Regions from separate parts of the Homo sapiens genome. Here region 2 is linked to region 1. Evidence: promoter capture Hi-C in human tissues and cell types (Jung and others, 2019). All regions are on one chromosome and are shown on one strand. Each heading gives the region's core, a stretch centred on a gene start or on the middle of the fragment in contact. The rest is flanking DNA. Distances are from core to core; before and after follow the strand shown.

Evidence for each region. Contacts are between HindIII fragments. The study calls those that stand out against the background at their distance.
Region 2: a contact is called between a fragment that was not itself captured here and the fragment with the promoter of SERINC4 in region 1, in 3 of the 25 tissues and cell types used here (aorta, dorsolateral prefrontal cortex and hippocampus).

What each region holds. Positions count from the first base shown.
Region 1 is chr15:43,798,970-43,805,427 of GRCh38, forward strand. It overlaps SERINC4 (serine incorporator 4), which reads right to left and starts at 1,251. Exons shown (of 12, transcript NM_001258031.2): 1 at 916-1,251; 2 at 341-517; 3 at 1-168. The coding sequence starts at 1,017. It overlaps HYPK (huntingtin interacting protein K), which reads left to right and starts at 1,630. Exons shown (of 4, transcript NM_016400.4): 1 at 1,630-1,815; 2 at 2,163-2,218; 3 at 2,549-2,600; 4 at 2,742-5,458. The coding sequence starts at 1,654. The coding sequence ends at 2,837. It overlaps SERF2-C15ORF63 (SERF2-C15orf63 readthrough), which reads left to right. Exons shown (of 6, transcript NR_037673.1): 3 at 1,526-1,815; 4 at 2,163-2,218; 5 at 2,549-2,600; 6 at 2,742-3,620. MFAP1 (microfibril associated protein 1) reads right to left here. Exons shown (of 9, transcript NM_005926.3): 8 at 6,407-6,458; 9 at 5,523-6,307. The coding sequence ends at 6,125. RefSeq lists enhancers at 348-1,048, 1,049-1,749, 1,657-1,906. The HindIII fragment of the contact is 6,811 bases long and covers 1-5,194 here.
Region 2 is chr15:43,867,566-43,874,023 of GRCh38, forward strand. It overlaps FRMD5 (FERM domain containing 5), which reads right to left. Exons shown (of 14, transcript NM_032892.5): 14 at 3,199-6,458. The coding sequence ends at 6,320. It overlaps WDR76 (WD repeat domain 76), which reads left to right. Exons shown (of 13, transcript NM_024908.4): 13 at 1-847. Among named protein-coding and RNA genes, the nearest start is that of WDR76, 44 kb to the left of the region's middle. The HindIII fragment of the contact is 6,836 bases long and covers 106-6,458 here.

The sequences.
Region 1 (6,458 bases), core at 1-2,500:
CTGTGCCCGCGGGCTGGTGGGGGAGTGGAGGTGGACCAGCAACACAGCCTGCAGCAGGTGGAAGGTGGCGGTTCCTGCACATACTCGGTACACAGCCCCAGAGCCACTGAGCACTGGACAGTCAGAGAGGCCAAACAGGTGGGCACACAACCCCGAGGGCATCTGGATCTGGGAGTGTGTGTGAGAGAAATGGCAGGACAAGTCATAATGCATGGAAAGGTACCTACTTGTCACGGGTATGACCACTCATTTGTCTCCTGCCCCCAACCGAAACCTTTTCTATCTTAGGGTTTTTCCTTTTATCTCTTCCCACCTGACAACCCGACCCCCTCTCACTTACCCTGTGTGTCTTGCCCCACACCCTTTCCACTACTGTCCTTGACAGCAGGAGGCAGCAGATTGCTGAGGCCCCCACATGGAGGAGGATGTAGAACAGGCGGCTGCAAGTGGATGCGGTGAGAGAGGGCCACCTAGAGTGGCAGCAGCTGGCACAAGGAGCAGGCCCACAGCAGCACACCTGGGAGTAGAGCAGATGCAAGGCAGCGAGGTGGAGACTTGCTGAGGAAAGGCATACGTTAATGTATGTGTGAGGTTAACCCAGGAGGTTGAATTCCAAAATTTCCCCTTCCCCTTTCTTCCTTTTACTCAGGTTCTGTTTCAAGCTGATTCCAGCCATTTGGGATTGCCGCCCACTGACAACTTAGTAGGGCTTTCATTATAAGCAGGCTTGAGATATCTGACCTTTCTCTCGACCTAAACACCTGGGGCTGGAAACATGGCGGGAGAGATTTACAGATTATACCTGGGGCAACGAACCAGAACGACATTAGAGGAGAAAAGAGGCCTGTCGTTTTTATTGGCTTCTGCACGTCTTCCTCCCCAGCTTCGGCCACTCTCCCCTTCGCACCCTCTCACCTGACAGAAGGGACTTTTCACTAGGACACTGCTGCCTCCGCTGTGCTGCTGTGCCAGGCCCAGGGAGGTGCCGGGGCTGGGGCCGGCCTTGGCACCCACCATCCTTGTCCCAGGGATTAGGCTTAGGTCCACCAGATGGAAGGCAGATGAGAGCAGCAGTTGCTTCTGTCCTCAGCCCATTGGACTGCCACTGTGTTGGGGCTGAGCACCCGGTCCCGGGCAGAATGGAGACGTCCGGAAGAGAACACTGACCTCCAGGTTGCGGTAAATGCAAATGCCCTGTGAAGGAGCTTTGTCCTTAGGGCCTCAACACTGCGGCCACTCAGGCTGTTCTCTCCAGATTAGGGGGCAGTTTGTCTATCTGGCCCCCTGTGGATTAGCATTCTTTATTGGTTTAGGATTAGACGTCATTCAGGTTGAACGGAGTTCCCTGAGGTGGGTGGGTGCGTGTTTATGTGTTGAGGGGACTATTCCTAGTTTATGAGGTGGTTAAGGATATCGGTGGGGTGGGCTGGAGCGGTGTCGGGTTAGGTCTGAGAGAAGGCCTCGCACAAAACACTGTACAAACCCGAAAGGAAGTCTGAGAGACGAACCGCCTTCCTCCCTGAAGCTTCTAGAACTGGAGCAGAAAGAAGGTGTGGCCCAGGGCCAGCCCCGCCTCCTCCCCGGGCGGAAGCTGTGTCAGTTGCCGGAAGTCGGCGTGAGGTGGGGCTTATGCGGCGGCGTGGTGAAATAGATATGGCGACCGAGGGGGATGTGGAGCTGGAGTTGGAGACTGAGACCAGTGGACCAGAGCGGCCTCCGGAGAAGCCACGGAAACATGACAGCGGTGCGGCGGACTTGGAGCGGGTCACCGACTATGCAGAGGAGAAGGAGATCCAGAGTTCCAATCTGGAGACGGTAAGGTTGGCCAAGAGCATGTCGGGGCGGGCTGAGAGCAGAGGGGGGCTCTGAGGCTGTAGCTGGAAGCCAGCGCTCCAAGACGGGGTTCTGATCCCGTTGGCAGGAGGAGGCAATAGGGTAGAGCCGAGGGAAACAGCGGTCACCGGAGCGCGCCGCTTGCCTAAAGGAGCTTGATAGTGGGCTTAAGGGGACCTCAGGTGCATAGAATGGAATTAAACATAGTCCTTGCTACCTGGTAACACTTGTCATCGTGAATCCATGCATGAACCGCTTGTTTTGTTGGCCTTTTAGATTATTGGGAATTGTGGGTAGCGGTGCAGTAACTAGACCTGCCTTTCCCATAGGCCATGTCTGTGATTGGAGACAGAAGGTCCCGGGAGCAGAAAGCCAAACAGGAGCGGTAAGTCTTCAGGGGCAGCCAACTTTAACAGTTCTTCCCTCCCCGGTCCCCAGACAAAAATAAAAACCATTATTAAGCCTTTATACCGTTCTTCAAATTTATCACCAATTCCTGCAGATCTAGGCGCCACAACTTTACTCTTGTTAGCAGAAGGCCTCCTGGCAACACCTGCTGCCAAGACTCCAGGGGAAAGGAGTATTAGTGGGAGTTTTTATTTTCAATCAAGGGTTTATCAAGATTTATTTACAGGGCACTTCTGGGAATGACCCTTCCTGGGAGTTTATGGTGTTGGTTGAGAATGAGGACTAATATATTTAAATATTTTTGCAGGGAGAAAGAACTGGCAAAAGTCACTATCAAGAAGGAAGATCTGGAGCTAATAGTGAGTGGTAGTGCCTAACTAGTGTATGCGGAGGGGAGGCTATTCTGCTTAATTTGGGTTGTTTCCTGAAACAAGCGGAGTCAGTATATTTGGTGGCACATTAATGCCTGGGAACCTATGTAACATGATTTTTTTCTGCAGATGACTGAGATGGAGATATCTCGAGCAGCAGCAGAACGCAGTTTGCGGGAACACATGGGCAACGTGGTAGAGGCGCTTATTGCCCTAACCAACTGATGCGTGCTTTCTCAAATATACCTACTGGATTAATTTATGGCAATAAAATTTTTTTTTGTCTTTTTCAGTTTTATCATCTTGGGTCAAGTAGAGTGTATACTATATCCTATGTTGTGGAGAATTTATATGTTGGAGACTAACTGAATTTAAGTGACCCATTAAAATCTAGCACACCTGTATGAAAAATCAGTGTAGAAGAATACCTCATGTGCAGATGCTAGGTGGCAGGCCAGTCTCATTCATCTGACTAGCTCTCAACAGTATTCAAGGTACATCTGGAGTCTCAGCAGAGTTACTGTACTCAAATGGCATGTGTCTCCAAGACAGCTTATGAATATCTAAAAGGCCAGCTACCTGCCTAGGAGCCACTATATATATAGATAGATGTAGGTTATGAACCCAGTTCATAGGCCACCTTGAGTTAGAATTTTGGTACCTACAACATGCTTGATTTTGAGTGATTAAAAAAAAATAATTTGGCTGGGTGCTGTGGCTCACACCTCTAATCCCAGCACTTTGGGAGGTCGAGGCAGGTAGATCACGAGGTCAGGAATTCAAGACCAGCCTGGCCAACATGTGAAACCCCGTCTCCACTGAAAATAGAAAAATTAGCTGGGCATGGTGGTGGGCGCCTATAATCCCAGCTATTCTGGAGGCTGAGGCAGGAATCGCTTGAAATTGGAAAGCAGAGGTTGCAGTGAGCTGAGATCACACTACTGTACTACTGTACTCCAGCCTGGGGGAAAGAGTGAAACTCCATCTCAAAAAAAAAAAAAAAAAAAAAAGCCCGGGCACAGTGGCTCACACCTGTAATCCCAGCACTTTGGGAGGCTGAGGCAGTCGGATCATGAGGTCAGGAGTTGAAGACAAGCCTGGCCAACATGGTGAAACCCTGTCTCTACTAAAAATACAAAAAAAATAAAATTAGCCAGGCGTGGTGGTGCATGCCTGTAGTCCCAGCTACTCAGGAGGCTGAAGCAGAAGAATTGCTTGAACCAGGGAGGCGGAAGTTGCAGTGAGCTGAGATTGTGCCACTGTACTCCAGCCTGGGTGACAGAGCGAGACTGTCTCAAAAACAAAACAACAAAAAAGAATTTAGGGGCCAGGCATGGTGGCTCATGCCTGTAATCCCAACACCTTGGGAAGCTGAGGCAAGACGATCACTTGAGCCCAGCAGTTTGAGACCAGCTTGGGCAACACAGTGAGATTTCGTCTCTACCGCGCTCCCCCCACCACCAAAAAAAGAATTTAGGTACCTGAGGGTTAGAACATGGTAAGACTAGAAGATATCAAAGGTTGGGCCAGGTGTGGTGACTCATGCCTGTAACCCCAGCACTTTGGGGAGGCTGGGCTGGGAGGACTGTGTCAGGTCAGGATTTCCAGACCAGCCTGGGCAACATAGCATGACCTTGTCTCTACTAAAATTAAAAAAAAAAAAAGCCAGGCATGGTGGCATGTGCCTGTCTGTGGTCCCAGATACTCTGGAGGCTGAGATGGATTTGCTTGAGCCTGGGAGGTTGAGGCTGCAGTGAGCTGAGATTGTGCTACTGCACTCCAGCCTGGGCGACAGAGCAAGACTGTCTCAAAACGAAAAAAACCTATGAAAGGTTTTGATTGGTATTCAAATTCTAAGCCATAATACATTCTACATGCCATTTCCTATCCTAGAGAGAAGGTAATTTTACTTTAAAGGTTAATCAGGGCCGGGCGTGGTGGCGCATGCCTATAATCCCAGCACTCTGGGAGGCCGAGGCAGGTGGATCACCTGGGATCAGGAGTTTGAGACGAGCCTGGCCAAAATGGTGAAACCCCATCTCTACTAAAAGTACAAAAAAAAATTAGCTGGGTGTGGTGGTGGACGCCTGTAATTCCAGCTACTAGGGAGGCTGAGGCAGGAGAATCTCTTGAACCCAGGAGGTTGCAGTGAGCAGAGATCGCGCCACTGCACTCCAGACTGGGCAACAAGAGTGAAACTCCATCTCAAAAAAAAAAAAAAAAAAAATCAGCTTGGACCAACTCACACATGTTGAACTAGTTTCCTCAACTATAAAACTGTGACGGCCCCAGCTAGGCACAGTGGCTCAACGCCTGTAATCTCAGCACTTTGGGAGGCTGAGGCGGGCGGATCGCGAAGTGAAGATCAAGACCATCCTGGCTAACATGGTGAAACCCCGTCTCTACTAAAAATACAAAAATTAGCCAGGCATGGTGGCAGGCGCCTGTAGTCCCAGCTACTCGGGAGGCTGAGGCACTCTAGCCTGGGCAACAGAGCCGTCTCTTTAAAACAAACAAACAAACAAAAAAAAAACCCTGCAACGGCCCCTGAGTCTGCTGTAAGGACACTCAAATGGCAATTACAGACATTTCTCCAAGAGTTTCAAGGCCTTACCCTCATTCTGACTCTAGGATAATTCTTAGATTGTATCCCACACAACAGTGACTTGTACCTGTGTTCATCTTTATGTATTTACCACCTCATAGTAATTATTTGCATTCATTTTTATCGTACGACACTAAACTATTTGATTCTTCCAGTGGGACATTTAAAGGATGTGAGAAGACCTTGGTCTTCTCAAAAACATCTGTATTTGGTCATGGAATAAATCCAGATGCTACCTAAAGCCAAGCTAGTACCTGAGCTTGTTTCTGAGATCAAAGGGAATTATCAAAATGTGAAACACCTTCTGCCTGACAATTGTTATCTTTTACTTTAATAGGCAATTAATACTTGTCAGCTTGGACATTTTATTTCCAGTATCATGCTAAAAATCTCCTTGTTGTGTGATTCTTTTATTTCTTGACATGCACACATATATGGATCAAAAAGTATGTACAACTAGAAAAACGGACTCCAAGCAAAAATGGAAAACATGTTTCCATGAGCTTAGATTTCCGGGTATATTACTCCTAAACCTAAGGTAGAAGTAATGCATTGTTCACTTACATGTCCACTTTTCTAACCCAAGCTAAGGGCTGGAAAAAGAAAGTCAGAACAGTCCCAAGTAAATATGGGAAACCATAGCAGTGATAAAACCTAAGATTTCTCAGAAATAGTTTTAAGTGGGAAGCCTCTAATCCTACCTGGACAGTGCTTTCCTGTGGGTTTCTCAGCATGAGTCCAAACCTCACAAAGCACCTTCAAAGTCTGGGCTACCCAGTATCACAAGTATAGCAGTAAGTCCAATATCTGGATACAGGGGCCAAGGAAACAATGAAAAAACCAAATCAAGGACCAGATGCTGAGACTCCCCTTGTGTTCCACAGTTGGAAGAATAAGCAGTTGGACCCTAGGTAGTTTTCCGCTTCTTGGCAGATGGCCGCTCAAATACATCTCGTACCCCAGCTGCCTTTTGTTTGAAGAACTTTGTGTTCTGGGCACTCTCTTGGCCCCAAGCTGAGTCAAAGGAGGTGGTATCTTGATCCACAAGGTGAGTGTATTTGGTGCGACCTGAGCGTCCAAAGTTCTTGACCTGAGGGAAGGATGGATGATGAGTTATACCACCAAACAAACCATGCCTCAGCTATCAATACATCACTTTTCTCTGTCATGTTATTAAGGTTCCCCATACCTGCATGACTTTAGGAAGAATGGTTTTATTGAAATGATCCTCCAGGGTAGGA
Region 2 (6,458 bases), core at 2,274-4,773, 71 kb after region 1:
ATATATATATTTTATTACTATAGTACCATGGGTAATGGATAAAGAAGTTAAAGCTACTGCTTAGAATGAAGAAGGCCCCAGGCTTACCTGTCCCGATCTTTAAACTGTCCGAAGGAAATTCAATAGCCTGTTAAGTGAATACCTTCATTCTTACTTGTATTTGGGGGAATATTATGAAATACTCACCACTTTTGGTATTTTATGAAAATGTTTTCTTTTCAGAAGTTATGGTAATTTCAATGTGTTTGTTGTTGGGAGGGGAGCTGCCAAATCAGTTACTAATATTACTGTGTGACATCTATCCAACTTTTTTCATTATTCTTCATTGCCAAATACTGAAAGACTTGTAAATGGCTTTGGCAATATGTTTGAATTCTAAGAGGAAATATTTTCCCATAATTGTATATCAGAGAAATATAGTGATATACAATTTCCTTGAAAACCAATTTCTAAATAATTTTCTTCTCTGTAATCTAAGTGTAAAAAGGTTTAGTTTTTTAATAGGTTTAGGTGTTTATAAGCAATAGTTCTCTATTTTCTAGTTGATATAAGTAGAAGAATTGACAAGTGAGATGGAAATGTTAATTTATAAAGGGAAAGAAAAGCTAGGTGAGGTTGAGTTATAATTAAACTGTTCAGGAAACATCGTAAAGGCTTTAGGCTCCCTTTTTCATTTCTATACCAATTAATCTCATGGGTTCTAGAGTGGTTAGTTCTACGGGAATTGTTTTTGTTTTTGTTTTTAAAGATGCTGAAAACTACTCTCAATCAAATTAGTACCATCATTTAAGCTTTGAATACTTGGCAGTAATTGCCTGGGCTCGTCAATAAATGTTAGCAAATTCTTGATGTTCCTCACTTTTGTGGTTTCTTTTGCCATTGTGGCTTCATAAACAGTGCTATTTATATTCAGTTATACTTTATAGAGTTATATCTTCAGGCAGTGCAGGAAGGAAGGAGAATGAGTAGGGACTTTTTTTTTTTTTTATTGGTGATAAGCTTTCTAATGGAGTAATTGTTTAAATCTAGACAGCACATAAAAGAAAATTGTCTCCCTTGGGACATTCTTACACTGTAATCTGTAGTGAAAGGTACTTCTCCCACAGACTTGCCTACAGCTGTGTGGCTTCTGTAATTATGTGTGTATTATGATTGCCTCCTTCGGGATAAGCCTTTTCTGTAAGTTTGGCCTTTATGATATCTCTTAAGCTCTGAATTCCGCTTGAGTTTTTTTTTTTTTTTTTTTTTAAGATACCCAGGCTTTTGTTATGTAACTTTTAAGGAAGGAGCAGACAATTCTCATTTTTGGTTGTCAGAGACTTTGTCAGACTAGGAGAGACCACAAATGATTAGGAATTAATAGAATCTGAGTTGCTTAAGTCCTATTTTAGTATTCTGGTCTTTGAGCTTCCTTTCCACCAAGAAGATTTTGCAAGGGGAGTTCTCCAGGAAAACAGGGAGCCTTAGGGCTATGGATACAAGGATTTAAATCCTTTCAGCTAATGTACAGTACATGGGGTAGGGTGGGGGAGAAGACACACATGCCTTCTGAATCAATCTGAGAAGAGGAAATATATGCCCTCTAACTTCAGATTCCAAAAACTTCAATGTCCTATTGGGCGGTCCTTTCTGACTTAGTACATTTCCCCCTGCTTTTTAGTAGGGTGTTGATGGCTAGAAATAACAAGACAGCAGATTGTATTTTGACTTATTTGGCTGTAAATACTTGGATTTTCAAATGAAAAGGTAGAATTTATGAGGAAGATAACATTTAGTACACTTACACGGAGCTGAAGAACAAAACATTTTATGATACATTTTCCCCAAAATGGAAACTGGGCAAGAGGAAATTTATTAAAAGGGTGCTTTGCTTGTTTTACTCCATTCCATCAGCAGGTCGTAGGGGTCTGAAGAGGAAGCCTGTTCATGAGCTAAAACCAAAAGTGTGTTCAGGTGCAGAGGAGCTAGATTGTGCTAGAGGAACCCAAAGCAGAGGGAGTAGGGACTAGAGTCCTACAGGGGTGTGTGCACAGGTAGTTCTTGATAAGCTGTCAGCAGAAGGGAGGCTGCTGTGAATCGGCAGGGCCACGGGAAGCCACCCAGGTCCAGTGTTTCTTGTGCTTTTTACTCTTTGGATCACTTCAAGCAAAATCTTATGTCATAAAAACAAAAAATTCCGCTGGGGATAGGGTGCTAGATAGCATTTTTTAGGTAGTGGGTACCTCTGAAATTTGGAGGTAACATAGCCTGATTGGTGTTTAGGAGGATGATCTGGCAACAGAAATGGGAGAGTGGAGGGCAGGCAGAATTGAAAAGACAAAGATTAGGTAAGAAGCTAGCACAGTGGACCAAGCCCCCATTATCACCTCTTATCCTCATGGAATTTAGAAGACCATTTCCAATTCCGTAGCCACAGAGTGATGGTTACATAATCAGATGAGATAATGCTATAGGGATATATTTTGTAAATATGTGGTGGTGGTATCATTGTAGTTCCTTCTTAGAAAGTATTTTCTGTGCTCCCACTTACTCCAGGCTTGAGTAAGAACAGCAGACCAGAAGGTGGACAATCTGGGTTCTAGTTTGGACTCTACCACTATGTAATCTTGGGAAAATCACTTAGTCTTCTTGGTTTTCCTCATCAGAAAAATACCCAATTCACTTTAAAATTATTACATATATAGCTTCTCAGTTTTTTTTTTTTTTTTTTTTTTTGATGTGGAGTCTTGCTCTGTCACCCAGGCTGGAGTGTAGTGGTGTGATCTCAGCTCACTGCAACCTCCGCCTCCCAGGTTCAAGCGATTCTCCTACCTTAGCCTCCTGAGTAGCTGGAATTATAGGCGCCCGCCACCACACCTGGCTAATTTTTGTATTTTTAGTAGAGACGGGGGTTTCACCACGTTGGTCGGGCTGGTCTTGAACTCCTGACCTCGTGATCCTCCCGACTTGGCCTCCCAAAGGGCTGGGATTACAGGCGTGAGCCACTGTGCCTGGCCGCTTCTCAGTTTCTAACAGTATTTATCTGGGGGTAAGGACAAGGATAATAGGTGGATACAAGCAAAATAATTATGTTATATGATCCAAGTGAATAGTAGTCAGCTGTGTAAATCCCACCAGTATCCTTTTATCTATGTGTTAGTAACTTTAAGGGAGGAAAAGTAAGACAGGCTATTATTAAAGAAAGAGCCCACTCTTCCATGATATTTAAATATTTATTTAAGTTTAAAAATAATCTTCATGGCACCAATGATTTTATGCTAACTACATACTGCATATGTAGAAAAAAGTACATTGCTTTGAAGGAAAATGTAACTTAAGAGTTTTTGGCACACAGAAGGTTAACAACTATATATTTTTAAATGTATCTAAGAAATTCACATTTGCAGGTAGTTTACCCTCTACTGCTTAAAGATGCAGTATGCTATTCTTTAGTAAGAGTTTTATTTCCTGATAGATGAAGCTATGAAAACCATTGCTTTTTCTACAATGAGATAAACTAATTTTGAGAGAAAATGAGAGACATGTTAGAACACAGTATAACCAGGTTAAAAACTTGAACAATTTTTAAAGGTGGAGATATACCAAAAAAGACTAGTCACCAATCAAAGGAGGTTTATTATTCAAGCACTATTTGAAAAGCAAACTGAAGGAAACTTTTCTATCCATATTTTCTGGGATGAGCCCTGGAAAAAAACAACCCTAAAGTTTCTGTTTACAGAGCAAAATTTAGCTGTTAGAAATGGCATAGACTACTGTACTGTTAGAACTCTAGACACAAGGAACATACTAGGATATGGAATACTGCATCTGTCTCTAATGTGAATATGAAAGGTCAGAGTTGAGGCTATCACTCACTGCATAGAAACACCAGATTCTACAAACTGAGGTAGGAGCACTACACTAAAAGGTAATCTTCTATGTTGCATAAGACAGTAGATACCAGGTGGACACCAGCCCCCTGTCTCCTGACAGCCTTTTCATCTCTGGGTCTACTTTTCACGTTAGTCCTGTGCTAAATAAAGCCTTTGCTATGTAGATGACAAGTGGCAGTGGCTAGTTGATTTTAACTGACCCCTAATCTCTACTAGGATCTCCTTCGGTTTGTATTGTCACTCGATAAATAGATGTTTATAATTCTGCCTAAATTGTTGCTGGTATGAAAATGGTCAGAGAAGCCCTCTTCCCTTCTTAGATTCCAGCTGTGTTTTAGCATTCCAGTATTTGATCTTGCCCATTTGGCATCAGACATCTCTTTGCTGGTTAGTTGTTCAAGCACCCTTTAAACAAGCAACCCTAGTGCCTCCACTGGGAAGAGGTCCCAGATCTTTGATACATGTCAGGCATGGAAACAGAGCTGACTGACCCTCTTCTGCTAACATACTGGTAAGGATCAGTTTTATTGTCTAGAGCAGGATTGGCGTATTATGGCCTGTAGGCTAAATTCAGCTCACTGTTTTCATAAAGTTTTATTGGAACACAGCCATGTTCCTTCATTTACAAATTATCTGTGGCTGTTTTTGTGCTGTGATGGCAGAATTGAGCAGTTGTGACACAGTATGGCGTGCTAAACCAAAATATTTACTGTGTAGCACTTGACATAAGTTGATTGACCTCTGGTCCAGATGAAAGGATGTCTTTAAAATTATGCAAATCTCTCCCTAAGAACCCCAATTATTCCACAGTTGTCATATTGTAAACATGGACATGGTTCTACCATCTCGGGGGACAAAATAGGGGAGGTCAAGTCTACAAGTGACTTGTTCTGTTCTGCGTTTGGGGCTGTCCAATTAGGGTATCAGCAGCTGCTCTACTTTTGTGTGGGTCCAGGAATATGTCCATTGACCACCCTTAAATAAGCCCTCAAGCCCCAGATGACTTAGAAATCTCTCCCTGAGATGAAAACAGGATCTTGTGTGTGATTGGTTTTAGAGTTGAAGAGCTTGGGCCTAGGATCCCACACTCGCCCTTCATATGCCTGTGCTGCGTGCTTCGAGGACTTCCCTCTGCAAGGATGGTGATGCTTTCCTAGAACTTATGCAGAGGATGACCCTAGGGGGCAGCATTTCTACATCTAAGTGTTGGTCTCTGCCACGGTCACATTCTGTGTTTTGTAGGCATCTCTTAGAAATCTATTTTAAAAGATTCTTTTCCTGGTCCCTTCTAAGGCTGTTGATCTTGGAATTCTATTTTCTGAAGCTTTTCATTCTCAGGATCAGTTTCTTTCTTGCATCGTTTAGTTCATCAGGCTCTATTTTCTTAATCCATAAAGTAAAAACAAAATATGAATTGTTAAGAAAATAACATTTCGTTGTTAAAATATAAATTGAAATAGTCTTTGGGTCAAGGGGGTGTATATAAAATAAGCACTGCTATCCAAATCTCAACAGTCTCTCAGGTAACTTAACTCTGCTTTCTCTTAACTACACTTTGTCCAACATTTCTGACAGAACTATCTATCTCTGGTACCACTGAATTCGTTTAACGCCCCTGGAGCACTATAAAAGTCTTGAGGTTCTTCGGAAAAAAAAAATCACGTTAAGTCTAGTTTCATTATACAAAACTATGGTGATGCCCACTAGGCTCTAGACTAAGGGGACAGACTTACCCCACCCCTGATGCTGCTGTTGCTGTAGCGGTGGTCCCTTCAGATGCCCACTCTGCTCAGATTTGAAAAAACAAAAGGAAAAGAAAATCCAACTCAGACCATCATAAGAAGCAACTTTCCATTTAATCATTCTACATGGATGTTTACTTTTTTAAAAGTTCTGGCTGGCAAAAAAAACAAACAAAAAACTAAACAGTCCCCATTGTCCAGATCCCTGGCCTGCCCTGCTGAGGCTGCAGTGATGAGTCTACTGGAACCCAGTGGCACCAGCAGGAAAAGCTCCTGCAGAATACAGAGGACAGCAGCTCTCTAGTTTTCAACTAGTGTCCCCTCTGCTAGGTGATACTACTGCAATAATCAGTAATAGTAAAATAAATTATTTTTATTTGATACTTCAAAATAATATACATCTATGAAAAATCAAAATTCAAAACCAAAAATTATCCTGCAAATTGGAAAGATGAGAAACAGAGTCGCTGAGCCTTTCTTGAAATAACTTCTGAAGAAAATGAGTTTTCCCAGTTTGTTTAGACAGGGCATGAGCCTATCCCTTTCTTCTTCTGGGAAACACCCTCCTAGGCTGCAGTGGACTTTGAGTCATGAGAGGAGGACTTGGTATATGTGCCGATGGTTCCGCGATGGGTCCCATTGCTGGGAATGGGTAGCCGGGTTCCTTGGTCCACCTGGCTAGTTTTTGGGAGGAGTCATGCCTTCTCAGGTGTCAATGAGCAGGCTCACCACTGAGCGGATTTTGCAGGCAAACCATCGCCTGAGGGGACAAAAGTATTGATAGTGGAATTGTTCAAACTCGGGGGTCTGGCGGATATCACGGAAAAAGGCAATGTCAAGGTCA